3 separate regions of the Homo sapiens genome follow, and regions 1 and 3 are each linked to region 2. The links are contacts of gene promoters, found by promoter capture Hi-C in human tissues and cell types (Jung and others, 2019). All regions are on one chromosome and are shown on one strand. Each heading gives the region's core, a stretch centred on a gene start or on the middle of the fragment in contact. The rest is flanking DNA. Distances are from core to core; before and after follow the strand shown.

Region 1 (3,715 bases), core at 85-2,584, 130 kb before region 2:
TCTGCAACAGAGTGAGACCCTGTCTACAAAAAAGAAAAGAAAAACAAAAGTAAATACATCAATAAACTATAAGAAAAATTATTTCTTTAAAAACTAAACAGAAGGCTCTAGAAGACTGAACCAATACAAATTATTTTTAAAACTGTCCTCAATTTAAGTGTGGGTGAGACACATATACAAGTTGGGAGGGAAATTAAAAATCTAAAAAAAGGGTTTGTACTCATTGCTTCAAGTCTCTAAGAGTTCTCACTCTGCTTAAAAAAACCGTAAATAGAAGTTGCAAGAATGTATCACAGGGTGTAATTAATGCCAAAAATATGAAGAATTCTAATCAGCAAACTCATACTAAATACATCAAAGATTGGTGAATAAATGTACATTTGTTTTAAGCTAAAATAAAATACTATGGGCCAGGTGTGGTGGCTCACTCCTGTTATCCCAGCACTTTGGGAGGCCAAGCGGGAGTGGATCATCCGAGGTCAGGAGTTCCAGACCATCCTGGCCAACACGGCGAAACCCCATCTCTACTAAAAGTACAAAAATTAGCTGGGCGTGGTGGTGGGTGCCTGTAATCCCAGCTACTTGGGAGGCTGAGGCAGGAGAATCACTTGAATCTGGTGGGGGGCGGAGGTTGCAGTGAGCCAAGATCTCGCCACTTCACTCCAGGCTGGGCAAAAGAGCAAAACTCCATCTCAAACAAACAAAACAAATAAAAAATACTATGGTACGTATGTATCATTTTTTATTTCCTGCTTTAATCAACTTTCCCAATTAACAGTAAACACTATATAAGATATAATAGTAACAGATAAGAGAACTATAATCACAGAAACTTTGCCCTAATAACTTTTGGCAAACTAATACAATCTACTAGACAGATAAAACAAAAATACTAACTGTCAACAAGTCTACCTATTATAATGACAAAAGATAAATCAAACTGACCAAAGCTGAGACTGTTGTGCTTAAAAGCATATGCCTCTGGGGCCACATTAGCTATTCTCATTAATCAAAAGGGCACCATGGTTCCCTATGCAGGTATGTTCTGGTTAATATCACAGATGTCTCAGAAGAAGATGGCTGCTGAACGGACTACATGGGGCTGAGGAACAAAGGTCTGAGTATCACTGAAGTAGAAAAATAATGGTCTGAGTTTGTTTTTTTTGTTTGTTTGTTTGTTTGTTTTGAGACAGAGTCCCGTTCTGTTGCCCAGGCTGGAGTGCAGTGGCAGGATCTCAGCTCACTGCAACCTCCACCTCTCGGGTTCAAGTGATTCTCCTGCCTCAGCCTCCCGAGCAGCTGGGATTACAGGCGCATACCACCATGCCTGGCTAATTTTTGTATTTTTAGTAGAAATGGAGTTTCGCCATGTTGGCCAGGCTGGTCTCAAACTCCTAACCTCAAGTGATTTGCCCGCCTTGGCCTCCCAAAGTGCTGAGATTACAGGAGTGAGCCACTGCGCCTGGTCTGAGTTCTCTTAATAGAAAAAACAAGAGATTTTTACTAATAAATTTGCCCTCAGAGTTAAACTTTTCTCCGTAACATAATATTTAAAATGCCTTCCCTGACTCTGATATAAATCATAGGTTTCTCAGAAAAAAACAATAAAATTCATGTTACACAACAACATCCATTTAGGTGAATTTGGGTACGACAGTTACTTACAGGGTTTCTTTAAATCCATTGATTGAAAGCATCAGAGGACTCTCAGTGATAGAACTTTAAACTTTCTCATTTCATTCATTATTCAACTAATATTCATTGAATGCTTATAATTTTCTAAGCTTTGTGAGAGTTTGGGTGGGAGGATGATGCTCTTTCAGTTTCATGGAAGAATTATGGTATATCAGAATGCAAGGAGGCTTCAATATGAGAGCAGGTTGTGGAAAAGTGGGGACCAAGCCACTTAACTATTCAACTGTTTGACAATAAAGGGATTTTAAAAAATAGAGTATTAGGCCAGGCGCGGTGGCTCACGCCCGTAATCCTAGCACTGTGGGAGATCAAGGCAGGAGGATCACTTGAGGTCAGGAGTTCGAGACCAGCCTGGCCAACATGGGGAAACCCTGTCTCTACTAAAACTACAAAAATTATCTGGTGTGGTGGTGCGTGCCTGTAGTCCTGGCTACTCGGGAGGCTGAGGCAGGAGAATCGCTTGAACCCATGAGGCAGACACTGCAGTGAGCCGAGATCGCACCACTGCACTCCAGCCTGGGCAACAGAGACTTCATCTCAAAAAAAAAAAACAAAAACAGTATTAACCAGAGTGCTAGCAAGGCAAAGCAAAAGGGGTTTTCCCCCAAATAGGGAAGACTTTTTTCTTTGAAAAGGGATGAGGACATAAAACATAAAACAGAGAAAGGTAATACTTATTGGAGTAGAAAATAAGGGAGGAGCAACATACAAAGGTAATCAAAGACCAAATTAATCTTACATTCACATAGTCACAGTCAATTAAAAAAATTTTTTTTTTTTTTTAAATAGGGTCTGGTTCTGTTTCCCAGGCTGGAGTGCTGTGGCACGGTCTTGGCTCACTGTAACCTCCATCTCCTGGGCTCAAACGATTCTCCTACCTAAGCCTCCTGAGTAGCTGGGAATACAAGCACACGCCACCACATGCAGCTAGTTTTTGTATCTTTTGTAGAGATGGGGTTTCACAATGTTGCCTTGCGCAGGCTGATCTCGAACTCCGGAGCTCAAGTTCAAGCGGTCTGCCCATCTTGGCCTCCCAAAGTGCTGGGATTACAGGCGTGAGCCACCATGCCAACCCTAATCTTTATTGAATGCTTACTATAGGCCAGGAACTATACTAATAATGCAATTTTATATGCATTATCAAAAATCTTCACAAAAACTCTGTTAGGTAAAAGAAACATACTTCTGAAACAAACAAAAAGACAAAAATAACTAGAGGGAAGATTAAGGAGGTCATACCAAATGACTGCAACTTTTTAGTTATGGAAACAGAAGGAAAAAAAAGCAGGAAGGCTTGAGGGCTTGAGAGGAACAGATAAGAAACTAACATTTACTGCCTACTATGTGCCAGCCACTGTAACATCCATTACATACATGTCATGTAATTCTGTGAAGTACTTATCATTCATTTAACTGAAGAACTTGAGGTTTGCGAGTTTCCCAAGAACAAAGAGCTGGTAAGTGGTGAGGTGGTGATTCAAACCTAGCTCCATGAAACTACAAATTATATTTCTTTCTGCTATATCAACATCAGGAATGTGCTAGAGAATAAATATGAGATGAATAAAAAGATCATAAAGCAGCAAAGGCCCAGTTAAAATCACACAGCATGAAATTAGAGCAGATAATGCCAACTCTGTGCCCTCTGCTCCCTGAGTTCAGCCACCCAGGTAAAAAGCATTTAACATTAGGAAGTTGCCTGAATTGCAACGAATTTATATGTACATTTAAGGACTAATATAGGGCAGAAGAGTTTTACCTCCCTTCAAATTATCATTATTGTTCTTTACAAAAATGAATACCTACAAAATATTAGGCACTGGATAGCTTACAGGACTTGCTACCCAAATATTTGAAGCTACAGTTTAGGTAGCGTACATAGTCCAAATTCAACACTAATCTGAGGAAGTATCTAATGTCAATCAAAATATCAGAAAATATCCACCTAAGAGTAACTTTTCTTTGTTTTCAAAACTGACTTTATTTAAATGAATAGGCCCTAAAACTAACAGACACTGGA
Region 2 (3,702 bases), core at 101-2,600:
TCATCCATCAGAGACTCAATCTTGCGCTCTAGTTCCAGGCGGGACAGAGTGGCATCGTCCACGTCCTTCGAGGGGTGGCAGTGGAGGTTCAAGATAAGTTAGGGGCTGCGCAGACCAAGGAAGGACCAGGCCTTCCCTGTCTGCCTCAGGAGGCATCTGGGTTACCCCCTTCTCCCCGCGCCCACCGATGCCACCTCTGGATACTGAGATCGGGGGTAGCGGTGGGGAGGCTGAACTCGGAGAGGGGCTCGGACTCACCTTGCGGAAGAGCACGAGGTTGTGCTCCGCGTCCTCCCGCTTGCGCGTCTCCTCCTCCAACCTGACGGGAAGAGCGTGCAGAGGCTGAACTGCGGGGTCGCCGCCCAGCTCGCACCCCAGACCGCACGCCCCCCAGGATCCGGTTAGAGGCTGTTCTGCTGCCCAGGACTCTAAATGGAGGGCTGAGGCTGTCTAATGGAATTGCCCCGCATTGTCTCTAACGGACTGGGAGCTGAAAAGGGGGTTTCCTCATTACTCAGGGGAGGCACAGATACCCACTTCTCCCACCTCCCCAAACACTCAGAGCAAAGGGGTAGCGGGGGGCACTTGGAGCCCGTGGGCAGGGATGCTGCCCGCACACACCTGGGTTGGTAAGGGGAGCCACACCCTTGGGCTGCTGATGGAGAGGGGAAGCGAGGGGAGGCAAGAGCAGCCGCCTCGACGGCCGCTTCGACCTCGCCTCGACGGCAGCGGCCCAGCCCTGCCCCCTGACCTCTGCTTGAGCGCCGCCAGGTCCTCCGCCAGCCCGTCGCGCTCCACCTGCACCCGGTCACGCTCGCGGCCCAACAGCTCCAGCTCTCGCCGCAGCTCGCGCAGCTCCTGCTGGCACAGCTGGTCGGCGCGCGCCGGCTCCTGGCCCCGGGCTTGGCTCAGCTCCCCGCGCAGGGCCGCGTTCTGCTGCTCCAGAAAGCGTACCTTCTCGATGAAGTTGGCGAAGCGGTCGTTGAGCTCCTGCAGCTCCTGCTTCTCGTTGCTGCGCGTGGCCAGGAACTCCTGGTTGAGGGCCTCGGCCATGGAGAAGTCGAGGCGCTCCGAGGGCAGGCGCAGGAGGGCGCCCGCTCCCGCTCGGGGGCTACGGAAGCTGCCCAGGCGCACCGAGGAGCTCGGGGACGCGGAGCCCAGCAGGCGGCTGCTGGAGAAGCGGGAGCTGGACGAGTAGGAGAAGGCCCCGGGGGATAGTGAGGGCGGTGGACCGAAGGTACGGCGGTATGAGGTGGAGCTGAAGCCGGCCCGGAGGCCCGACGGGTGGTGGCTCATTGCGGCCAAGGATGGGCAGTCACCGTTCGCAGAGCTAGGCCGGGGGCTGGGAAGGAGCCGCAGACCGCTGCGAGGCGGCTTTATAGCCCTGCGGTCTCAGGGGGGGCACGGGCAGCTCCTCCCACTGGCCTGATGGCCCGCTGGAGGGGGGTTGTATGGGGAGGGGGATGCCCCACCCCTGCGGAACAGCAGGAGCGCCTTCCCCTCCCTTCCCTGGTTGCAGGCCTCTACCCACTTGATTGCCCCCTGTTGCCGCTGGGGTGGGGGTCACTTCCTCCCAACAAGCACCCAAAGCTAGAACCTAGGGTAGGAAGGCCTGACTTGAACTAGAGTCCCTGAAAATTGCGAGGTAGAAGGACCTGAAGTTAAAGGGCAGGCTTCTGGCACAGGAGTAGGGAGGAGGCCAGCTGGAGGGAGAGTTGACCTGGCTTAGGCCCCATAGCTAGTGCCTTGACTTGCCCCCTGAAGGCCAGGCTCTATTTTCACCTGCTGTCAGCTACCCCTCCTTCACCACACCCAGAGAGGAATAGGAGACAGGGGCGCAGAGGCAGATCGGGCTGGGGAAGAGCTACTCTCCCTAATCCCCAGGGCCCTGTGAAGGGCTGGTGCCTGGCGCCAGCTCTGCTGCTAATGGGCTGACCAGCCCCCCTCCCCCTCCCCTGAAGACGGCCCAGCAGAGGTTGTCTGCTGATGTTTCAGCCTTAAAGACACAGCCCCCAAACCTAGACCTACCCCGCAACAAGCCCCAATGAGGTGGGTACATCATAGGGGGCTGAGGGTGGCTGGACCCAGCTCTGGATCCCACTCGGGAGGGTCTGCCCCATGCCACGGGCTGGGCTAAGTGGGCCTTTTGTATTCTGTCTTGGTTTACTGGATTCTCCCTCCCCCCAACCCCACACCAATTGCTGCTCAGTCATGGGCTTTACAGGAACCAGAGTGATTCCTGAGGTAGGAAGGGGAGGGGGCTGAGGGGCAACAGCGGCTGCCAAGGCTGAGAGATGGATGGACTGGCAGGAGCTGGTTTCCAGTATTGATGAGTTGCAGGTACCAGGGATGGGTGGGGCTGGATGGGGAAGAGATGGGGAAAGAGAAAGTGCCCATCCCCAGCAGTCTGAAAGAGAGAAGGCCCCAGAACAGGTCCACAAACCTGCGCACGCAAACAGATGCATACACACAGCTTTGTATATCTATGCGCACACACACTACATACACACACATACACACACAATCACACATCCCACCACACCCTCCCCTACTCCAGAGTTAGCGAGAAGGCTGATATCTGGCCTTTGTATGTCAAACAGCTTCCAGAATGCAAGCACAACCTGCCCAGGAGTGGACAGAGGCAGCTCGGATGGTCTGCAGGAGCCGGGTTGCTGAGGTCTGCTGGGTTTGCCAGGAACCATAGGGCTGGGGCTGCTGCTGCTGCTGGGGACTCCAGCGCTGTCCTGTGAGACAGGTCTGCCTCAGATGGGACCTGAGGACAAGAGAGTGCATCTGGGGAAGCAGGTTTCAGGTTCCTGCCTGGATATCTGGCTGGGGGTAAGGAGGGCGGCTCCCTGGCTGGCCAGCTCCTCAGTATTGCAGGGCAGCAGCCCCCTCCCCCCTTTGTGCGTCCTGTGAGATGGGCCAGGGCCAACGCCCTGCTCACGTCCCTACCGCCTTCGTCTCCTTTCCAGGCCCCTCCTTCCTTCCGGGCCATTAGTCTCTCCCTGCACAGCTGCCAGTTCCTTCTCCTTGATGGGTCTGGTTTGGTTGCCAGGGGAGTGGGAAGCGGGAGGAAGGGAGAGATGGGACAGGACGAATAAATGACAGCTTGGCCTCCCCTAACTCCTGGGAATTGGGAGGGGTAGGGTCCCACCCGGGATAGGGCCGGGAGGCTTGGTGGGTGTGAGGAGGGGCTAGGGAAGCCTTGGTGCTTCCTGCCGCAGTCCTGGGCACTGAGCCCCAGCTGCTGTTGGCCTGGAGCCCCATCTATCCCGGATTTGGCCCCACCCTCCAGGAGCAGGGAGCCAGCTCTGCATCAGGAGAGGCGGGCAAGGCCTGGGGAGGACCAGCTCAGGCCCTGTCTACAGGGCACTAGTGGGGGACCCAAGCCTCTGAGAGTAGAGGCTGCTGGGGCTGCAGCTGGGCCTGGGGAGTTCCAGATGGAGTTCCCGTCCTCACCCTGCTTAAGGGCTCCGCTGGCCACCTACATGCCTCGGAGGAGAAGGGACAGAGGGCTGCCACAGCAGGGCTCTGGAGCTGTGGATCAGGCCTGGGTGGGGAACTGCCAGGCAGAAGAGGCTCCTCCCCTAAAGCAGAAGGAGCAGGCCAGCAACTCCAGGCGGAGCAAAGGTAGGCAAAGAGTCTGGGTTAAGAGCCGGGCTCTGGCATCCAGCTGCCACACTTCCCATCTGATCCACC
Region 3 (4,201 bases), core at 429-2,928, 170 kb before region 2:
TTGCCCAGGCTGGAGTGCAATGGCACGATCTCGGCTCATCGCAACCTCCACCTCCCGGGTTCAAGCGATTCTCCTGCCTCAGCCTCCTGAGTAGCTGGGATTACAGGCATGCACCACCACACCCAGCTAATTTTTTTTTTTTTTTTTTTAAGCAGAGACAGGGTTTCTCCATGTTGGTTAGGCTAGTCTCGAACTCCCAACCTCAGATGATCTGCCCACCTTGTCCTCCCAAAGTGCTGGGATTACAGGCGTGAGCCACCACACCTGGCTAAGACAGAGTCTTACTATGTTGTCCAGGCTGATTTTGAACTCCTGGCTTCAAGCCATTCTCCTGCCTCAGCCTCCCTAAGTGCTGAGATTATAGGCTTTAGCTACCACACCCAGTCGGAAAGTGTTTTAAAACAAGATTTTGGTGATGGTGCACAACTCCATAAATTTACTAAAAATAATCAAATTATACACTTGGGCAAATTTTAAGGTATTTAAATTATACCTCAATAAAACTGTGTTTAAAAGGGCTTAGATGTTGCCACACTGTCAAATCACTATCAAAGAGTTCCTAAACACTCTTCATTTCTATATACTTCTCCAGTTCACAGACAGGAATAGGGTCTACAGCCCACACTCTAAGAAGCACAGCTCTGACTTCTGCTAGATATTGGCTAATAGGCTTGGAGTAATCAATAGTTTTAACTGAAACTGACTTAATTTAATTTAAGCTGTTCAAGTTTAACTCCACTAAGTATTTCATTAAATAAGGAATTTACAAGTATTACTGACAAAAGGAAAATATGAAAACATGGTCTATTGCTGAATAAAAACATAACTCATTACAAAATGAGAGCCTGTAAATGAAATACCACTAAGAACAATGACTACCATAGACCCTTCTTTTTAATGTAGTATAACCAAGTTGATAAAGTCAGTGTATTTACAGATTAGACTACTAAAACCCAAAGCAATGACACTTTAAACGTATAAATGAATAAATGAAATGTTGTAATATTTTATATGTCATGGGACCAAATATCAGACATGCAAATGAATTACATGCATAGATTTGTTTCAGAGAAAGTCCCAACAACACATAAGCTTTACTTTGTTTCCAACTAAGTGTAAATCTAGGCTAAGTTCAACCAAAACTGGTAAGCACTTAGTGTCTATGTTGTAGTCTATTTTTTTTTTTTTTTTTTTTGAGACAGAGTCTCTCTCTGTTGCCCAGGCTGGAGTGCAGTGGCATGATCTCTGCTCACTGCAAGCTCCGCCTCCTGGGTTCACACCATTCTCCTGCCTCAGCCTCCTGAGTAGCTGGGACTACAGGCACCCGCCACCACGCCCGGCTAATTTTTTTTTTTTTTGTATTTTTAGTAGAGACGGGGTTTCACTGTGTTAGCCAGCATGGTCTCAATCTCCTGACCTTGTGACCCACCCACCTCGGCCTCCCAAAGTGCTGGGATTATAGGCGTGAGCCACCAGACCCGGCCTATGTTGTAGTCTAAAATTTAAATTCTTTTATAGTTAATATTTAAATTCATTTTATAGTAATTAGAAAAAAGCAACTGATGGGGACAGGAGGCAGAGAAATTCTAGGCAGAAAAGGGTGGGTCACCGGTTAAAACGCCACCCTCAAGCCAAAATGCCTGAAACCTTGGCCCAATGTGAGAACTTATATCTCTGTTTTCCTGTTTGTTGCCTTTTCCTAAACCACCCATGGCCCCACCCTGCCCCATTCTGTGCCTATAAAGACCCCAGACTCAGCTGGCAGAGAGGAGAACTAGCTGGACGTCAGGATGTCGGAGAGAAGTGGGTTGACTTTAGAGGGACAGCTTGATGGTGTAACTTTGGAGAAAAAACTAGCTGGAGACAGCTGGACTTCAGGGAAAGATTATCTACCCGCACCCCACCAACCCCTTTTCAGCTCCCCTTCCTGCTAAAAGCCACTTTCATCAGCAATAAAATCTCCCGCATTTACCATCCTTCAATTCATTCGTGTGACCTCATTTTTCCTGGACACCAGACAAGAGCTCAGGAGCCACGAGTGCAGATACAAAAGGCTGTCACACTGGCCCTTTGCCCTTGCTGGCAGAGGGCAGCCACCCCACACACGGGGGGAAAGGGCCCACTGAGCTGTTAACACTTAAGCCGTCCACAAATGGCAGAGCCAGAAGAGCACTGTAACATGCCCTCTGGAGCTTCGGGGGTCACAGGCACCCCACAGCCTGGATGCTGCCACGGGGCCCACACAGAGTTCACCCCTGCTGGTACTGAAGCAGCCAGCCGGTTCCAGCACTCATGCCCTCCAGTTCCTTCCTTGTTCACTCGCGCTCTCCTTCCTGTGAGGAGTTGAGAGAGGCAGGCTGAGTAAAGGAGAGACTCCTGCAAAGGGGCCAGGGAAATATCCTGCTTCACAATGATACTTTTTTTCTACAGCTCTGGCAAAACACAGACATGAAATAAAGACTCTCTAGTTTTAAAAAGGTCAAAGTAATTTGCTGAAGTTAACTTTTTTTTTGGAAAAATTAAATGCTCAACTTTTCCAGAACCCTATTTTTACTATAGTATTTCTCATTTGCAGGGTGAAAACAGATGCTCAATGTTTCAAGCATAACTGGGAAAAAACAAACTGAATTATAACAACTAAGAAAAAACAAACTTGGGTTATTAAAAAAAACTTTTCCGTTGGTAAATTTCATTCCACAGAACAGTTCAGCTTTAGTAATCTAAGCATTCCTTAGAGCTCAGATTCTTCCTATAGATTTACTACACAATGAAGCTACAACTACAAATCTGGTTTATTTACTTTCTTATAAGGTTTTTGAATTATCAAGTCAAAATTAGGTTTAAAAGAATTTTCTTCATATTTAACATGTGAGACCTGGATCTATGAATAGCTTTGCTTTGAATTAAAGAACATTAACTTTGAACTGGAAATTAAATTGAATGAGGGGAAAACGCCAAGATATCTATGATCATTCTTTTAATCAATATATTCCAATTATGTACAATAGTTCTAGTGCTGTTGTTCACTTTGTCCCTTGAAATTTTTGCAGCTATTCTAGAAAAGTAGAAAAAGGTTTTACAAAGTCTTTGTTGTCCTTCCCTCCATTATAACTACCCTTCTATTTCCTGACTCTTTGCACCTTGTATTTCACTTTAGATAAGAAGCTAGAAGAACATTCCCGGAAGGAAAGCTAAAGAAGGAAACAAAACCCAGAAACATTTACTCTTGCTCCACTGCCTTTCTCTAGAAAAATGCCAACTCAAACAACATAGAATATCCTGCAGCAAGCTAGCCCTCTTAACACATCTCCCTAACATATGTTCAGTATTCAAAAATGCATCTTCAAGATTGTTAAGCATATTACAATTTGCTAAGTTTGTGTGAGTAGAAAAGCTATTGTTATATGAATTAATTCCCAGACTAGTAATACACAAAGCGATAATCTAATATCCATAAATACTTGTAAAACCATTCAAAACACATTAGAAGGACAGTTTTTAAATATACAGCTATAAATGGGGATCATTATAACTATGCTTTTAACAATTTATGCCCACATGTAATCTTACCCTTCTGGTTCTGTTTCCTGGACATTGTCGTTTCTTCGATCTCAAAAAATATACAAGAAAAGTATCCTTTTGCCTTGTCTGGGTTTTGAGTGTAGGTATCTCTGATTTAAAAGTGGGCAACGGAAGTGTGCAGTTGGAAGCAAAAAATACGAAATCCTGCTGTTCGAAATTCTGCTCACTAGCTGTTAATCTCCTTTCCTTTTCTTGTATCAACTTCTTGTCAGGAAGTATCATTGCAGACATTCATGTCTCCTTTTCCAGGGAGATTCTGGAGGGAAAAACACAAACACACATATACTATTACAGTAATGACTATCTGTACAAAATTTCTGAGATATCCACAAGGTTTCTTTTGTATTTCTGTATACAAAACTAGTTTTTAAGTACTATAGAAACAATGTAGCTGCTGAAAAGCAGAATTTTTCTTAAGAAAAGTTAATCTTAGAATCAGATTATCCTCTTAGTTTAGAAAGTATGTTCTCTTAGTCTTATTTTTTGTATCCATCTGAAATATCCCCATCTCTGCTTTGCAAACTAAAATGTTACACCTCTTACCACTCCCTAAGATCTTTCTTTTTTTTTGAGATGAAGTCTTGCTCTGTCACCAGGCTAGAGTGCAGTGGCATGATCT

The links. Contacts are between HindIII fragments. The study calls those that stand out against the background at their distance.
Region 1: a contact is called between a fragment that was not itself captured here and the fragment with the promoter of PRPH in region 2, in 1 of the 25 tissues and cell types used here (lymphoblastoid cells).
Region 3: a fragment that was not itself captured here is called in contact with the fragment with the promoter of PRPH in region 2 in 2 of the 25 tissues and cell types used here (liver and spleen).

What each region holds. Positions count from the first base shown.
Region 1 is chr12:49,421,674-49,425,388 of GRCh38, reverse strand. The region is part of intron 2 of SPATS2 (spermatogenesis associated serine rich 2); the gene reads right to left. Among named protein-coding and RNA genes, the nearest start is that of SPATS2, 56 kb to the right of the region's middle. The HindIII fragment of the contact is 9,368 bases long and covers 1-3,715 here.
Region 2 is chr12:49,292,795-49,296,496 of GRCh38, reverse strand. It overlaps PRPH (peripherin), which reads right to left and starts at 1,350. Exons shown (of 9, transcript NM_006262.4): 1 at 752-1,350; 2 at 259-319; 3 at 1-65. The coding sequence starts at 1,296. TROAP-AS1 (TROAP and PRPH antisense RNA 1) reads left to right here. Exons shown (of 8, transcript NR_120449.1): 6 at 1-1,237; 7 at 1,962-2,049; 8 at 2,601-3,702. RefSeq lists enhancers at 418-1,334, 1,335-2,252, 2,332-3,094, 3,095-3,702. The HindIII fragment of the contact is 28,443 bases long and covers 1-3,702 here.
Region 3 is chr12:49,460,407-49,464,607 of GRCh38, reverse strand. It overlaps SPATS2 (spermatogenesis associated serine rich 2), which reads right to left. Exons shown (of 14, transcript NM_023071.4): 3 at 3,571-3,838. The coding sequence starts at 3,595. Among named protein-coding and RNA genes, the nearest start is that of KCNH3, 77 kb to the left of the region's middle. The HindIII fragment of the contact is 4,568 bases long and covers 1-3,962 here.